3 separate regions of the Homo sapiens genome follow, and regions 1 and 2 are each linked to region 3. The links are contacts of gene promoters, found by promoter capture Hi-C in blood cells and fetal thymus (Javierre and others, 2016). All regions are on one chromosome and are shown on one strand. Each heading gives the region's core, a stretch centred on a gene start or on the middle of the fragment in contact. The rest is flanking DNA. Distances are from core to core; before and after follow the strand shown.

The links. Contacts are between HindIII fragments. The CHiCAGO score rates a contact against its expected background, and 5 or more counts as called.
Region 1: a contact is called between a fragment that was not itself captured here and the fragment with the promoter of ITK in region 3, in 2 of 17 cell types (activated CD4 T cells and non-activated CD4 T cells). The highest score is 7.2, in activated CD4 T cells.
Region 2: a fragment that was not itself captured here is called in contact with the fragment with the promoter of ITK in region 3 in 8 of 17 cell types (non-activated CD4 T cells, activated CD4 T cells, naive CD4 T cells and 5 more); the score reaches 13.1 in non-activated CD4 T cells.

The regions. Positions count from the first base shown.
Region 1 is chr5:157,350,953-157,356,022 of GRCh38, forward strand. All of the region lies in intron 23 of CYFIP2 (cytoplasmic FMR1 interacting protein 2), which reads left to right. Among named protein-coding and RNA genes, the nearest start is that of FNDC9, 7.8 kb to the left of the region's middle. The HindIII fragment of the contact is 1,043 bases long and covers 2,259-3,301 here.
Region 2 is chr5:157,334,857-157,339,202 of GRCh38, forward strand. It overlaps CYFIP2 (cytoplasmic FMR1 interacting protein 2), which reads left to right. Exons shown (of 31, transcript NM_001037333.3): 22 at 4,201-4,346. Among named protein-coding and RNA genes, the nearest start is that of FNDC9, 8.6 kb to the right of the region's middle. The HindIII fragment of the contact is 2,642 bases long and covers 1,243-3,884 here.
Region 3 is chr5:157,179,401-157,184,158 of GRCh38, forward strand. ITK (IL2 inducible T cell kinase) reads left to right here and starts at 1,440. Exons shown (of 17, transcript NM_005546.4): 1 at 1,440-1,715. The coding sequence starts at 1,578. The HindIII fragment of the contact is 39,229 bases long and covers 1-4,758 here.

The DNA of each region.
Region 1 (5,070 bases), core at 1,530-4,029, 170 kb after region 3:
AGCCTTTAGGGTTTTCTAGGTATACAGTCATATCATCAGCAAACAGTGACAGTTTGATTTCCACTTTACTCACTTGGATGCCCTTTATTTCTTTCTCTTGTCTTACTGCTCTGGCTAGGACTTCCAGTACTATGTTGAATAGAAGTGGTTAAAGTGGGCACCCTTGTCTTGTTCCAGTTCTCGGGGGAAATTCCCCCACTTTAAAAATGAGAATATTATAATGCCTGTCTTGTAGTGTTATTTGTAACAGATGAACCCATGTCTGTAAAGTCCTGGGCTTACGAATAGTAGCTGTTATTATTAAGAAGAAAAGGTCAGTGGTTCAGAGCCATTTCCTGAGTTGGTCATAGCTTCATCCAGAGGCTATAATGAGCAAAGTTTACACCCTGAATTGCATAGCACTTCCTTGCTTTTCCTCTCTTAAATCACTTTTATTGGTTTTATTTTTTAATGTATATGCTCATTGTACATAAATAATATTGAAAAGTTCAAAGATGACAGTAAAACTCATACAACTCAGAAACTTGGGAACTTTTTCTGCATTTAACATGTGTGTTCTCGTTTTACAAACCACATGACAACTCCTTGAGATCGGCCTTCTTATCACCATTGTACAACGGGAGAGACTGAAGCTCAGCGGGGCCGGCTTGGCTGCTCTCACAAAGCAAGGTCCTGGCAAACAATGGTGTAAGCCTGGGCCTGTTGGCCACTAGAGCTGGAGATCCTGGCTGGCCTCTTTGATGCTCTGCTGCTCTGCTTGTACCATCCTGTAACCTGTGATTCTTCAGTCCATAGTAGCCCTTTGCTTTGTGATTAGCTTCCCTTGAGAGGTAGGGCCAGGACTTCATAGTATGGTGGACTCCAGAATGCTGGAGCAGGTGAAGAACTAAAAGCTCTTACAGAGAACATCTAACCACCTGATGTGGTAGCGTCAGGGAAGACATCAACTCATTTGGAGAAATATGACCAGCAAGTGTTTCCTCTTCTGAACAGGCCCTACTCTGGAGTCTAAGTTCTTCTGTGCAAGAGCTCTGTCACTTAGAGATGATGCTCAATAAAACAAAACTTTAACAACTGGTCAAGTAATCAAAATTAATATATGAATCAAAACTTTAAGAATATATTCTCTAAATAAAGTAAATTATATAGAGTCTATCCTAAAACTGCCTTCCAAGTGACATAGATTGCGGCATAAAGCATTCATTCAATTATTCCAATAACTTCCTGGTAATTTTTTGGCCCTTAGAAATTGTTGGTGTGATCTGTTTGGCCTGGTTGTCACAAGCCCCCATCTGAGGCACAGTTTGACCTCAGGCAAATGCATCATACCGTCATACTACCACAGTGCCTCCCTTGTTAAATCATATCCTTAGGACCCAGAACCCAGTGCTTTGCTGCAGCAAGCTGGGCACAGCTCAGCTGGGTACACACCTGGATGCCAACACTGCCCGCCTGGGCTGACCAGGGGAATCTTGGTCCCTGTGACACCACCACCAACAGCACCTCCCACTTCCCTGCCACCACCCCACCCTTCTGTCTGCATGGTACCACTTCTACAAGGTAGTTTACCCACCAGTCCAGAAGGCTTTTGTGATTTTGGCAACCAATACATATGGAATTTCCTATGCAGAATTTCATCTTGTATCTCACCCCAGACAAGTCACTTCATTACACTTGGGATTCAGATTCCACTTCTGCTAAATGGGGATACTTGCACTGCCTTACCTGGTTTAGAAGGCTGAGAATGTTTCCCAAAGACATCAGGTCCTAATCCTGGAACCTGTCAATGTAACTTTCTTTGGAAAGAGGTCTTTGGAGATGTGATTAACTGGAGGACCTTGAGATGGGAAGATAATCCTGGATTATCTTGGGTTATGCTGGGTCCTACATGCTATCGTAAGTGTCATAAGGGAGAAGCAGAGGGAGCTTACACATGTAAGAGGAGAAGGCCATACGAAGACCCAGCAGAGAGATGGGAAGATTGGAGTGGTGCAGCTGCAAGCCCGGGATTGCCGCCAGCCTCCAGTAGCTGAAGAGACGGGAAACAGATCGTCCCCTGCAGTTTCTGGAGGGAATGTGGCCCTGCCGACACCTTGATTTTGGCCTAGTGATACCAGTTTGGATTTCTGGCTTCCAGAAGCCTGAGAGAATACATTGCTGTTGTTCGAAGCCACCAAATTTGTGGTAATTGTTAGAGCAGCCACAGAAAACAATGTGGGCGGCTGTGACGGAATTCGTATGTGAAAAATTCACAGAGAAGCTTGATATACTTGTGTGTCATCACATGAGTACTGATTATCAAGAAAAGTGATGACATTGGTTCCCTTCAAAAGTTTTAGCATCTCTGAGTGTGACAGTGTTGATGTGATCTCTCAGCTGGAAGGCTCGGCTCCTGTTCCCCTGCTTGCCTTTTCCAACGCACCTTATTCATAGCCCAGGAGAGAAAGGAGCGTCATTTCTTGAGATCTGCATAGCAGCTCTTTGGATCTTTCAGCCTCTGAGCTGAGAAGGCCAAGAAGGAACCCAGATGTTGGAGACCCAGCCCTATGGCCCCCCAAATGTCAAGAACAGACAGACAGACACATAGACACATTAGTAGTTTTACCCAAGCGTTTACAATGGATTTGATCCTGGAACTGAGAATTGATCAGTCCTTGGCACTGTCTTGCTCTGTGATCTTCCCGACAAGGACGATGCTGCTGTTTTATTTTTGCCGTCGCCTTTATTTACCTGCAGTGATTTTAGGGAATTGAGCTGCAGCCATTCCACCTAAATTAGAGAGCTGTGTTTGTGTTTGCGGGCTGATGATATCCATTAGAGAAATTGTAACAAAAATAGGAAATTAGGAACAGTTTAATTCCTCTTGGGATCTCTGAAAACAGCAATTGTGATTCCAGAGAGCAGAGATGCAAATTGCTTACAAATTCAGTTTACCAAGTAAATAGGCCTTACTGTTTGAAGTGGCTGGCCGTGTTTACCATCTGATGAGATAGAGGCCTATCTCAACGGATAGATGAAAAGTCTGTATACAACATTTAAACATGGCTAAAATGGTGAATTTTATTTGTATATTTTGCCACAACATTTTAAAGTTCATCTACAGATAATATTACAGTGCCCAGGATCTGCCAGATTAAACTCACCATATTTTTTTCTCTCCTTAAAAATGCTTTTTTGCTTTTTTTAAGAAAATGCAGGTCTGCGTCACACAGTAATAACATGGCTCTAATTCCTGAATCAGGGTTGTTTATTTCTTGAGATCTCATAAAGCTATCTATTTTGTGTAGTGTGGATTTAAATAAGCTTAATTTTAAGTGAGCCATCCTAACCAGGCAGGATACATAATTAGTTTCCTATGAGGCCCATTGATTGGAACCTATCAGTTAGCAGAATTGGTTCAATGGCAAGTTTCCAATGGCTCATGTCATGTTGCATTCTTGTTTTTCTTTGCCAACCCTCAGAAAATGCCCAGGCTCCCCTATTCCCACATTTTCTCAATAGGGCCCAGCCTCCTATTGAGCCAGCAGGTCAGATGGGTGCCCTTCGGGGATGAGTGTGTGTGTACTTTTCAGCATGCGTGTGCATTTCTTCTTGCATGCGTGGGGTATATTTGGGGGAATGAGGGGTCGGGGGGGATTTTTTTTAATCTTAGGAGGAGGATTTGAATTCTCCTCATTTCATGCTGGTCCTTCTCACATGAAATGCATCTTGGACCATCAACTGAAGCCTAAACTCCCAGTCTAGACCAGAATCCAAGACTGACATAGGAATGTCAATCAGGGGCCTCCAAAGTGAACCGAGTGGGTGTGTAGGGGGCATTTTAAAAATCCTTACGTGGTAAAACAGTTCCAATACTATTCTCCGCCTCTGCCTAGATCTGGGAATTCCTGCTGAACAGTTTCCATATATGTAAATGTGTATTTATTTGTGCTTGCCAGGAAGTGTTCAGGGAAGCTTGGTACTAGAAGCTCCTTGGGTGGCGGTGAGGGTTTAGGACACCACTCAGAAGGATGAGCGTCCAGGAAGAATGCGTTTCAGCTTGATCCTCTAGAGGGAGCACGTCTATCCCCACTTCCAGCCCTTGATGGGACCCCTTATAACAACCCTGTTGTTATAAGATACCTGCAGTGAGGAGGAACTCCACCCAGTACAATCTGTTACTGAACATCTCCCATTTTTATGATGTTCTTAATGTTGAATAAAATGCATTTTTTGGTGCATTCTATCAACTAGTCCTGGCTCTCACCTCTGTCCTATCACTTTGTGGGGTACATGCTGTGTTGCATAAAATTACCCCCCACATATGCACTCCCCTGTTTACAATCAGAGAATCGTAGCTGTCGCCAAAGCTGCTGGGGGAAATTCGACCAGAAAGCTGTGTTTTTGTCTTTATTTACCAAGTCATCAAACAAAATAATATTAATGGCTATTTTTTCAGTGAGCGTTTCCAGTGTGCCAGGCACCATGCTGACTGCTTTATATATGTGATCACATTTAAACCTCAAACAACCCTATTGGATTTGGTATTATCATCTCTACTTAGGGGAAATTAAGGCTTAGAGGGTTTAGGTAATTTGCCCAAGAGCATCTAACTAGTGCATTTACAGACCTAGAATTTGAACTGAGGTGTGCCCACCCCAAAGCCCATCCTATGGACTCAGACAAGCTAGAAAAGAAGTCAGAGAATCAGACAGAAAATATAAGTAGATGATTGCTTTTTGTCCCCTCCAGTGATATCCATTAGAAAGCTGCTTGCTACTCAGAAATTCCTTTCTGAAATATTTGAAAAGGGGACAAACGAGAATGTGCTGAGAGCTTTGCTGGGTTTACAGGAGAAGCCTAGAGTCCCTGGTGTGGGTGGAGAATGAGAAGGCTGTCAGGGCAGTCCATGAGCACTATGTTCCCATGGCTGTGAGCACAGCCAGGTCTTTGTCACCTGGTGCCTGTGCTGGCTGAAGCTGCAGCCCTCTTCAGGAGAAAATTTAAAGCATGTTTCTGCTTTTTAACCTTTGAAAATCATGTTGGGAAGGTGAATTAAGCTATGACATAGCTCAGTGGGATTTTTAAATT
Region 2 (4,346 bases), core at 1,314-3,813, 160 kb after region 3:
TGAAACCTGAATAAAGCCTGTCATTCAGCTAATAGTGTTGTACCAAAGTTAATTTCCTTCATTTGATGATTGCACTATGGTTCCGCCAGATGTTAACAGTGGGGAAGCTGGGTAAAGGATATGCAGGGTATGCTGTTTTTACAACTTTTCTGTAAGTCTAACATTATTTTTAAATAAAGTTGGTTTTTATTTTAAGTGGACAAAGTATAAAAATAAAGTGACAGTGAACTGGGACTCTAACATCATACCTAGGGTCCCAGTCCTCTCCCTGCTACTTACTAGCTGTGTGATCTTGTGCAAGTTACTCAGCTTCTCCAAGCCTGTTTCCTTATCTATAGAAATGGAGGGAATATCAGAATCCACCTCTTAGGGTTACTATAAGGATAAAATGAGATACTACCTGTTTTTTTGTTTGTTTGTTTTTGTTTTGTTTTCTTTTGAGACGGAGTCTTGCTCTGTTGCCTAGGCTGTAGTGCAGTGGCGTGATCTCAGCTCACTGCAACCTCTGCCTCCAGGGTTCAAGCAATTCTCCTGCCTCAGCCTCCTGAGTAGCTGGGACTACAGGCATGTGCCACCAGGCCCACCTAATTTTTGTATTTTTAGTAGAGATGGGGTTTCACTATGTTGGCCAGGCTGGTCTCAAGCTCCTGACCTCGTGATCTGCCTGCCTTGGCCTCCCAAGAGTCTTTTGTATACATAGTTAGCACTTAATAAATAATAGCTTATGGAAAAAAGATGAGAGAAAAATAAATTTGGGGCTGCAATGCAGTGATTTTGGGTGATTTCTTAGGGCTTGACCTACCCACCCACCTAAGTCCTGGGTCACTTACTCCAGGAGACTGTAGTACAGCACACATTTTTCTGAGAAATCATTTGGTCACCTCTATTTTGAGAAACAGAGTTATTCTTTATGCCAAATGGTTAGCAGTGATTAGCTCCAAGTGGCGGGATTTTTTTTTCTTTTTTGTTTATCTGTATCTTCTAGTTTTCCAATAATGAGCATATCTTATGGGAAAAAAAAGATTTGGGATATGTGTGTCTCCATGGCCTCTTCCCACCTGTCCAAAAGCACTAAATGTTCTTTTAGCTGGGAACAAAATCAAAACAAGCAGTGAAAGCCCTTGCTTATCAGGCGAGGGCAGTGGCTCCCCAGAGAACACCAGTTCCTGGGAAGCCCATGAAGAGACCTCAGGGAAGCGCTCTCCGATGGGTCTGGATGGCCCCTGCTCGCCCTGGCTGAGAAGCTTCTACCTCCTCCAAGAAACAAAATGAGGAATGAGCTCCCCTCAGCCTTTCCCTCCACCTGAAAAACTCCATTCTGAGATGGGGAGGCAACTTGATTCTGAGTTGGGAGAGGTTGCAAAGATTTGGGGAGTTAGTCACCCTCATTTTACACAGCTGAGCAAACAGAGTCTCAGCAAGACCCGATGCTGAAGTTGAGAACGGGCAGCCCGCAGGCTGTGTTTTGTTTAGGCAGCATAGTACATTTGTAATTTTGAGCCAATGTTTAACATTTGGAAGAAATCAAATAAAACTGCAGAAGCTCTGGCAATGCCAGACCAGCATTCCCAGATGGTAACGATTGCCCATAAATGACTAGAAGTTCCTGTGAGATGGGCTACACTTTCTTCAGCTTGCCACAGCCTCAGTGGCAGGCTTCATTTATGTGTGTGACCTACGAGGCCTCACTGTACTGAGTTTGAGACCTTTGCTCTCTCACTTGCCTGAGGCCACAGAGCTGGTTGACAGTTGAATGTGGTTAACAATCAGGTCTTCTTTCGTTGATGAGCTCTTTCTCCCACTACTCTGAAGTTGCCCACTGGGGTGTTTTACTGCCCCAGTTCTGTTTCTCTGTGTTGCCCTTTAGTAAACCAGCCTTGCTGTGGAAAAGTGTCATCCTCTTAGGAGACCCCTAAACTGCCCACATGGCTTTTTAAGCCTTTTCCATGCTTTGGTGCGTTGAGCCCTGCATCCAGCTGGCACATGCCCTCTTCTGGTTTCAAGGCCAGAAGAACAAATCCGAAATGTGTTGCAGAAATATCGTCTGGGTTACATACTGTGCAGGGAGAAGTGGACCTGTGGTTGCAGCAGCCTCTGCCTCTCCTTCAGTTTCCCTTGTGAACACGGATGTATGTTGTGAGACTGCTGAAGTCACAGAACGATAACACAGAAATTGTTCCCCAGCTTCTCAGTTGTCTTCCCAGTAACAAGGCACCACAGTGTGCCAGGGGACTCAGTGATCTTAGAAATAAACTCAGCGCCACTTACTCCATGTATTTTTTATTTATTTAGTACCCATCCTAAGTGAATCAGAATAAAGACATATTCCAGCTAGCCAGGCCCCCAAGAGACAGAATCAGAAAGCTGATTCTGTATTTCCGCCCTTCATTTACTTCATGGTACACAATGACTGGAAACTTATTCCTCCGATGCTGTTCCAGAATTGAAATTCTGACCTTCTTTTGAAAAATTGCAGGATTTGCCATCACTAATCCCCCACTCCAACATGGCAGCGGTCAGACGGGGTATCAGAAGTAGCAGCTCCACCTTTACCTGGGCAGGGACATCCAATTTGCCATAGATGGACCCACTCCCCAAACTTTCTCTTCACCCCAGTTGATCTCACTTACCTGACCTGTCTGGTCTCTTTAGCCATGTGTGTTTGCAAGCCTTCAACCATTTCTGCACACTTCAACTTAGAGCCACAGAATCTGAGTTTCAGAGAGGCAGAGCTCCAAAAATTGGAAGCATAGCCTGGGATCTCCACCTGACCATGCTCTGGTCTCCATCTAGGGGTCTTTGTGGCTAATGAGAATGAAATTGAATCCTTGGCATGAGGCTGCCTCCTGTGGACATATTCCAGCCATTACAGCCGACCCTATGGTCATCCCACCCGGCCATGCTCTGATGAATTGGCCTTGCCGATGTTCTTTTAGCCTTTATGCTGTAAAGCCATCTTTGCCTTTCAAAGGACTTTCACAGCTCTTGCATCCTTGTTCCAGGGAACTGTGTCACAGGGACCAAGAACACATGATTTGGAATAAGGAGACTTGGATTCACATCCTAAGGCCTCTTATGGTGACCTTGGGCAAGTTACTTAACCTTCAGGGCCTCAATTTCCCCTCTCTGAATGAGGGACCATTGTACCGATCCTAAAAGATGGCTTAACCAAAACAGCACAGGAGTGGCCTAAGGTGCTTTCTGTCTCTACATAAGACTGTACTTTGATTCCTTTTGATAGCAGTGGCGGGGAAGTTGCAGGACAATGAGAGTCCAAAGCGTGTTGAAAGAGTTACACTCTTCTTTCATTTCCCAACAAATGCCATGTCCTGCTGTGTGCAGATACTCTGTCCCACTTTGCCTGAAGATGGGTTTCCTTCGTTCAGGGCCCACAGTGCACATAGATCCCGGTCATCATGAGCTGACTGCAGACTGCAGACTGCTTGCCCATGGCTTGTAGCCACGCCTTTGCCAACCCCATGTGATACCTCAAGGGGCCTACACTCCAAAGGATGAGGCATTCTGCTCCCACCTCTTTTTAAAACTTCTATAGCAGTTAGAGCATATAGTGGTTAAGAATGTGCACTTGGGAGCCCAGTTTCCTGGATTTGAAGTCAAGTTACTTAACTTCTCAAAGCCTCGGTTTCCATATGTATAAAATAAGAATGGCAGCAATACTGACCTCATAGGGTTTGATAAGCATTAAACAAGTTGACACATATAAAACTGGCACATACTAATTTGGTTGAACCAGGCAAAATTGCCAATATTTGGCCCTAAAAAACAAGTAACGTCATAGGGTTCAACCTAATAGTAAACCCTTAATTAGTGGTAGCTCTTAGTATTGCTTTTTTCTCACCAACATAGAAACTGGAAAGCAAGTAAGCTTGTTCTCTACCCAAAAGGGATTTGCACATGGTCTATGGTCTCCTTCCAGGGGGTAGGCGTGCAACCTCCCCTTCCCCTACCTTGCCCTTAACCTTCTGGGCCTCCATTTCTGTCAGCGTAGTCTGACAATCCTTCCACTTCTCAGAAGGGAACCTTGTCACCTGCTACTGTAAGGGTCCTAGTTCCCATGTAGATGGCCAGGAGGTTGTCTGAGCAGCTGTCACTTGCGTGAACAGAAGCAGTAAGATAAAACACACACATGTAATGCTTACAAGCAAGTCCTCAGCAGTTGTGGGCTCTCTCTCTGTACAGGAGCTGGAGTGGCTGCTGGAGATTAACCGGCTCACGCATCGGCTGCTCTGTAAGCATATGACGCTGGACAGCTTCGATGCCATGTTCCGAGAGGCCAATCACAATGTGTCCGCCCCCTATGGCCGTATCACCCTGCATGTCTTCTG
Region 3 (4,758 bases), core at 190-2,689:
ATACTCCATTGTCCTCAACATTCAATTTCCACCTCATGATACTAGATAGCTGCTTCAGCTCCAACTGTTACCTCAATATTCTAGTCACAAGGCAGGAGGAAAAGGGAAAGAAAAGGGGATGACAGATCCCACTAAGGAAATTTCCTAGAAGTTGTGCACACGACTTCTGCTACATTCAGTTGACCAGAAGACAGTCATACAACTACACCTAGCTACAAGGGAGGCTAAAATTTGTAGTCTTTATTCTTGCTGGCCAGATGCCCAGATAACTGTCAGGGATTCTGTTACTCTAGTAAGAAGGAGAGAGTAGCTATTTGGGAATAGTAGCAATCCCTACCTCAAGCCCATACTCAGAAAAAAAAAATACTATCTTGTTTGGGCAGTGTATTTCCACACATATGTCTTAAGAATCTCAGAATGGGGGAGGTAATTTAAAATATACCAGTACCGTACCCTCCTGGGTGTCTTGATTATGCTGGGGCATCCAGTATATGAAATAAAATTAGGCTGTTGTCTGGTAATTTACATTTAAAAATAAACATTGGAGAATTTCACTCCTATACAGCAATAATTATTATTTCATTTATTATTTATCCCTACCCACTACATGCAATATCTGCTTACACTAAAATCTCTTGATTATTAACATAGTAGAGGTAACTGTCACACATTATACTTCAACTATGTACTAACTCTAAGGTGACATGTATGACTAGCACCTACCATTCATAAGATGTATGGGATTCAGTCCTCCAAAGGACCCTCACAAGGAAGCTAAGGATCAGAGAAGTCATGGCTTGCTCAAAGAGAAACAGCATAGTAAGTGACAGAGCTGGGAATCCAACACAAGTTTGTCTGTTTTCAAAGCCCACATATACTTTGTTTATTATGCCATTCTGAAGGATTCACTTATTTTTCACTCTTCCACAAAACGTCAGGACAGAAAGGCAGTCATCTATATGTAGCATTGAGAAATTTCTATGGGCTTTAATTTAAATCTTAAAAACTAATAAACTTCAGCAACATATTTCTTCACTTTAATGTGTGAGGGTTTTGTGCTCATTACCTCTTTTAATTGTCCAACCCAATTTGGTGATGATCCATTCAACAAATTTTTCTTGAACATCTGTTTTATGTGTCAGGTACTGTGATGGTTGCTGAGTATATCATGGTAAGCAAAACCACACATTGTCCTTACTCCTTGTGCTACATGATTTAACTGCTGGATGGATTAAACCAGGAACTATAAAGATTAAACTGTAATCCTTACCACAATTTTGAGTTTACAGTTTTTCAAATATCATTTCAAGCCATTAGCAAAGGCTGTATGTATTTTTTACATATGCCTCCTCGTTTTGTGAATTTTGAAAGGATGTGGTTTCGGCCTTTGACATCAGAGGAGAAGCTCAGCTATGTTGGCTGAACGTTGATAGAAAGATAACGTTGAAGGCAAGTTGCCCTTGAGCAGCTCTCTGAAGATCAACTGCCTCCACATTGCATTCTTTGCCCCAAAACTCTTTCCTTTGGTTGTGCTAAGAGGTGATGCCCAAGGTGCACCACCTTTCAAGAACTGGATCATGAACAACTTTATCCTCCTGGAAGAACAGCTCATCAAGAAATCCCAACAAAAGAGAAGAACTTCTCCCTCGAACTTTAAAGTCCGCTTCTTTGTGTTAACCAAAGCCAGCCTGGCATACTTTGAAGATCGTCATGGGGTATGTGAGCAGTTTCATTTGTCTTTTTTCGCATAGCATTTTATGTTTGGACTGGGCTAATGCAAAAATATATACATAGCATAAAATAGAGCACAGGAAACACAAACATGCTTATTGTAACAACATAAAAAGTACAGTAAAAGTAATCAGAGGAGAATGCAGAGAGCAGTCAAGAGGTGAAATGGTGGTGCTAGGTGATTTCAGTTCTAAAAACTGTAAATTTAACATTCATCAGCTTTTTCCCCCTGCAAGGTTATGTTTGGTTTTTAAATTATGAATAACATTTTAGGTAGCAAGTATTATGATTCGATAAAACTTGAACTTTCTATGAAACATACTAAATTTAATGAAACATACTAAATTTAATGAAACATAGATTAATACAACACTAGCATTCAATGGGATGATCTACCCCAGCTTTCTTATTTTTTAGTGGAAGAAACTGGTGTTTAGAATGGTTAAGTTTTGGGTTCAGTGTTAACGTTTTCATGAATAACTCTGTTTGTCTCAATACTCGTCGCTAGCCTGATCTTGAAATAAGATTTCCCAGGCATTTAATTATCTAAAAGTTGTAAGGCACAATGGCAAACCTCTTCATCTCTTGATAGACTTCTTAGGACACCAGGGTTATTAAGAACAAAGTTTCTGCAGTGCAGACCAGCGGTTCTTACCCAGAAGGAGTATGGCTGCTTTGCTAGGTCAGTCTATCTCTTTATCTAAAAATAGTCTTGTGCTTCTTAACATCACTAATAACAAAAGCAACAGGAATAATCCTAATAATGTAGTTTGGTAGAAAAAGCATTGGACAAAGGGTCAGGAGACCAAACTCTACTTCTCAGTAGGTGATCCAGTCTGGGCAAATGTCTACCTCCTGTTTCAGGTTCTTTCTTCATAAAATGAAAAAACTGGAAATAACAACCTTCAAGATCCCTTTCTTCTTCAAAACTTCTTTGCTTTATGCAGTGGCTCTTGTTTAGCCCTATGCTGCAATTTTTCAAAGCATGTTTGATTTCTTACTGTATGGTTATATTATTTTTACATCATTAGTGGGGTAGGACAAGGATTATCACTTATATTTTACTGAAGGGAAAATAATATTAGGTGCCTGATGGTCACTTAGAAACAAAAGTGCTCCAGTTCTTTGTTGGAGTCTGACTTAGTAGGTGGTGGCATGAGTTTGGGATTCTTTGGTGTGCCAGGGTTTAAAGCACTTCATGAGATGGAGCTCCAGAGGAGGTCAGGCTGGGTATAGAGCCTATGGATGCCTCACTTTTTAAAGTTGCAGGTGTTGCATGTCTTTTGTGAATTAAAAAAATACAGAAAACAAAAAAGTTGCAGGCGAAATAGCTCTGCCTCTTTAGAAGTGAAAAGAATTGCTTGTCTTATTATCAGACTCTTACTGATAACAATTTACCAGTCAATCAGAAAACACATGGAATTACGTGCAAGTCCTCTTTGCTAGGTGGCCAGGAGCCCAGTTTGTGAACTTGGGGGATTTATCATGTAGAGCTAATAAATCGCATGGCATTACTCAATGCTTTTTTGTGAATGGAACATTTAAAGTTTTTGTTTCATATTGAAAGAACAGTCATGTACCTTTAAATATTTTTTTCAAAGTCCATTTTGCAGTTTTCACCAGTTCGTTTTTCTGATTCAACATAGTATCATCTCATTTAGTTAGTATTAATAATTCCTTAGCCCAACTGCTATTTGTGAACTGATTGTGAATTCAGCTCAATATTATTTGTAAGTAATCACAAAACCAGATGGCCTTAATTCAGAATATTATTGGTCATAATTTGCATGTAGACAAGGTTGTAAAATCACCCTACTTCTTTATCTGAGCATTATGGAAAATTTCAAGACAATTACTTCATTCTGGGGAGCCCTAGGCTACAGTTTCTAATTCTTCCATGTGAGATATAGAGAATACATGTCCAAACATCAAATTTCTTGTTTTCTAATGCCTTTTTTACTCTTATAAATAACATTTTAAAAGTATTTCTTTAATTATTTAATTATTATAGAAGTTTATTAATTAGAAATTTATCCAAGTTCCCTGAAAAAGGTAATATATGTGAATTATTATTGTTCATGTCTTAGGTATACTACATGGTTTCAGGCCACCAATTTGCACACAAGGCTGCATTAATATTACTCATAAGTAAATAACATTACACTTATGGGAAGAACATTTTCATTTTTAAATTAAAGGCTTCATTTTCAATCTGTAAAATGGGTGTGATAATAGTACCCATTTCATAGGAAGATGGCAAAGACTCAGAGGTATAATGTCTTTAGGCTGAACTTTTTGAAATTATTTGGCAGATCGAATATCAGATATTAGAAGTTTCAAACAATTCAACTTAATATATTAGGTACTTAGCATAGGCCCTGTCATCTGGTAAGCATCTAGTAAAAATTAACCATTATTTGTATCCCTTTCATGTCTCTACAGAAGCTAGCAGGCTGTCATAACAATTCATTTTCAAATTATGGGAGATATTCAAGGATTCTTCAAAGTCAAGCTAAGATCAGGGTCCTGGATTCCTTCTATTCTGTGGCTAAATATAAGTTTTGTGGGGTAGATATACATGCATTATGAGCTGTTTGGCCAGTTATTGCCCCTCTTAGGGTGTCGGGTGTCAGAGCTTCTTTTTCTCTTTTCTCATGTGTAAAATTATGATTCTTGCAGTTCTCATATTCTATGAATTTATAACACCATATGAAAAATAACCCTTCTACATACTCAAGAACATATTCTGTAATTCTAGAAATCAAGTATGTTTATTCTAACCTAAAAAATCATGCCTATTGTCATTATAATACTAATTGATTGAGGTTTTACTTTAACATGGTTTTAGTTCTGGTGTTCGATGCCTGTTTTTCCTGTTGAGATGTGCAAGTGTTTTCAGAGGGGCCAAGAAGCGCCTTCATCTTGCTGGAGCAGTGGGCCAGAAAGAAGCATAGATTTGGCAGGTGGTAGCTTGCAGACAGACATGATTTCAGAGGCTCTCCTGTGCCTGTCAATTTTTTTCCAAGT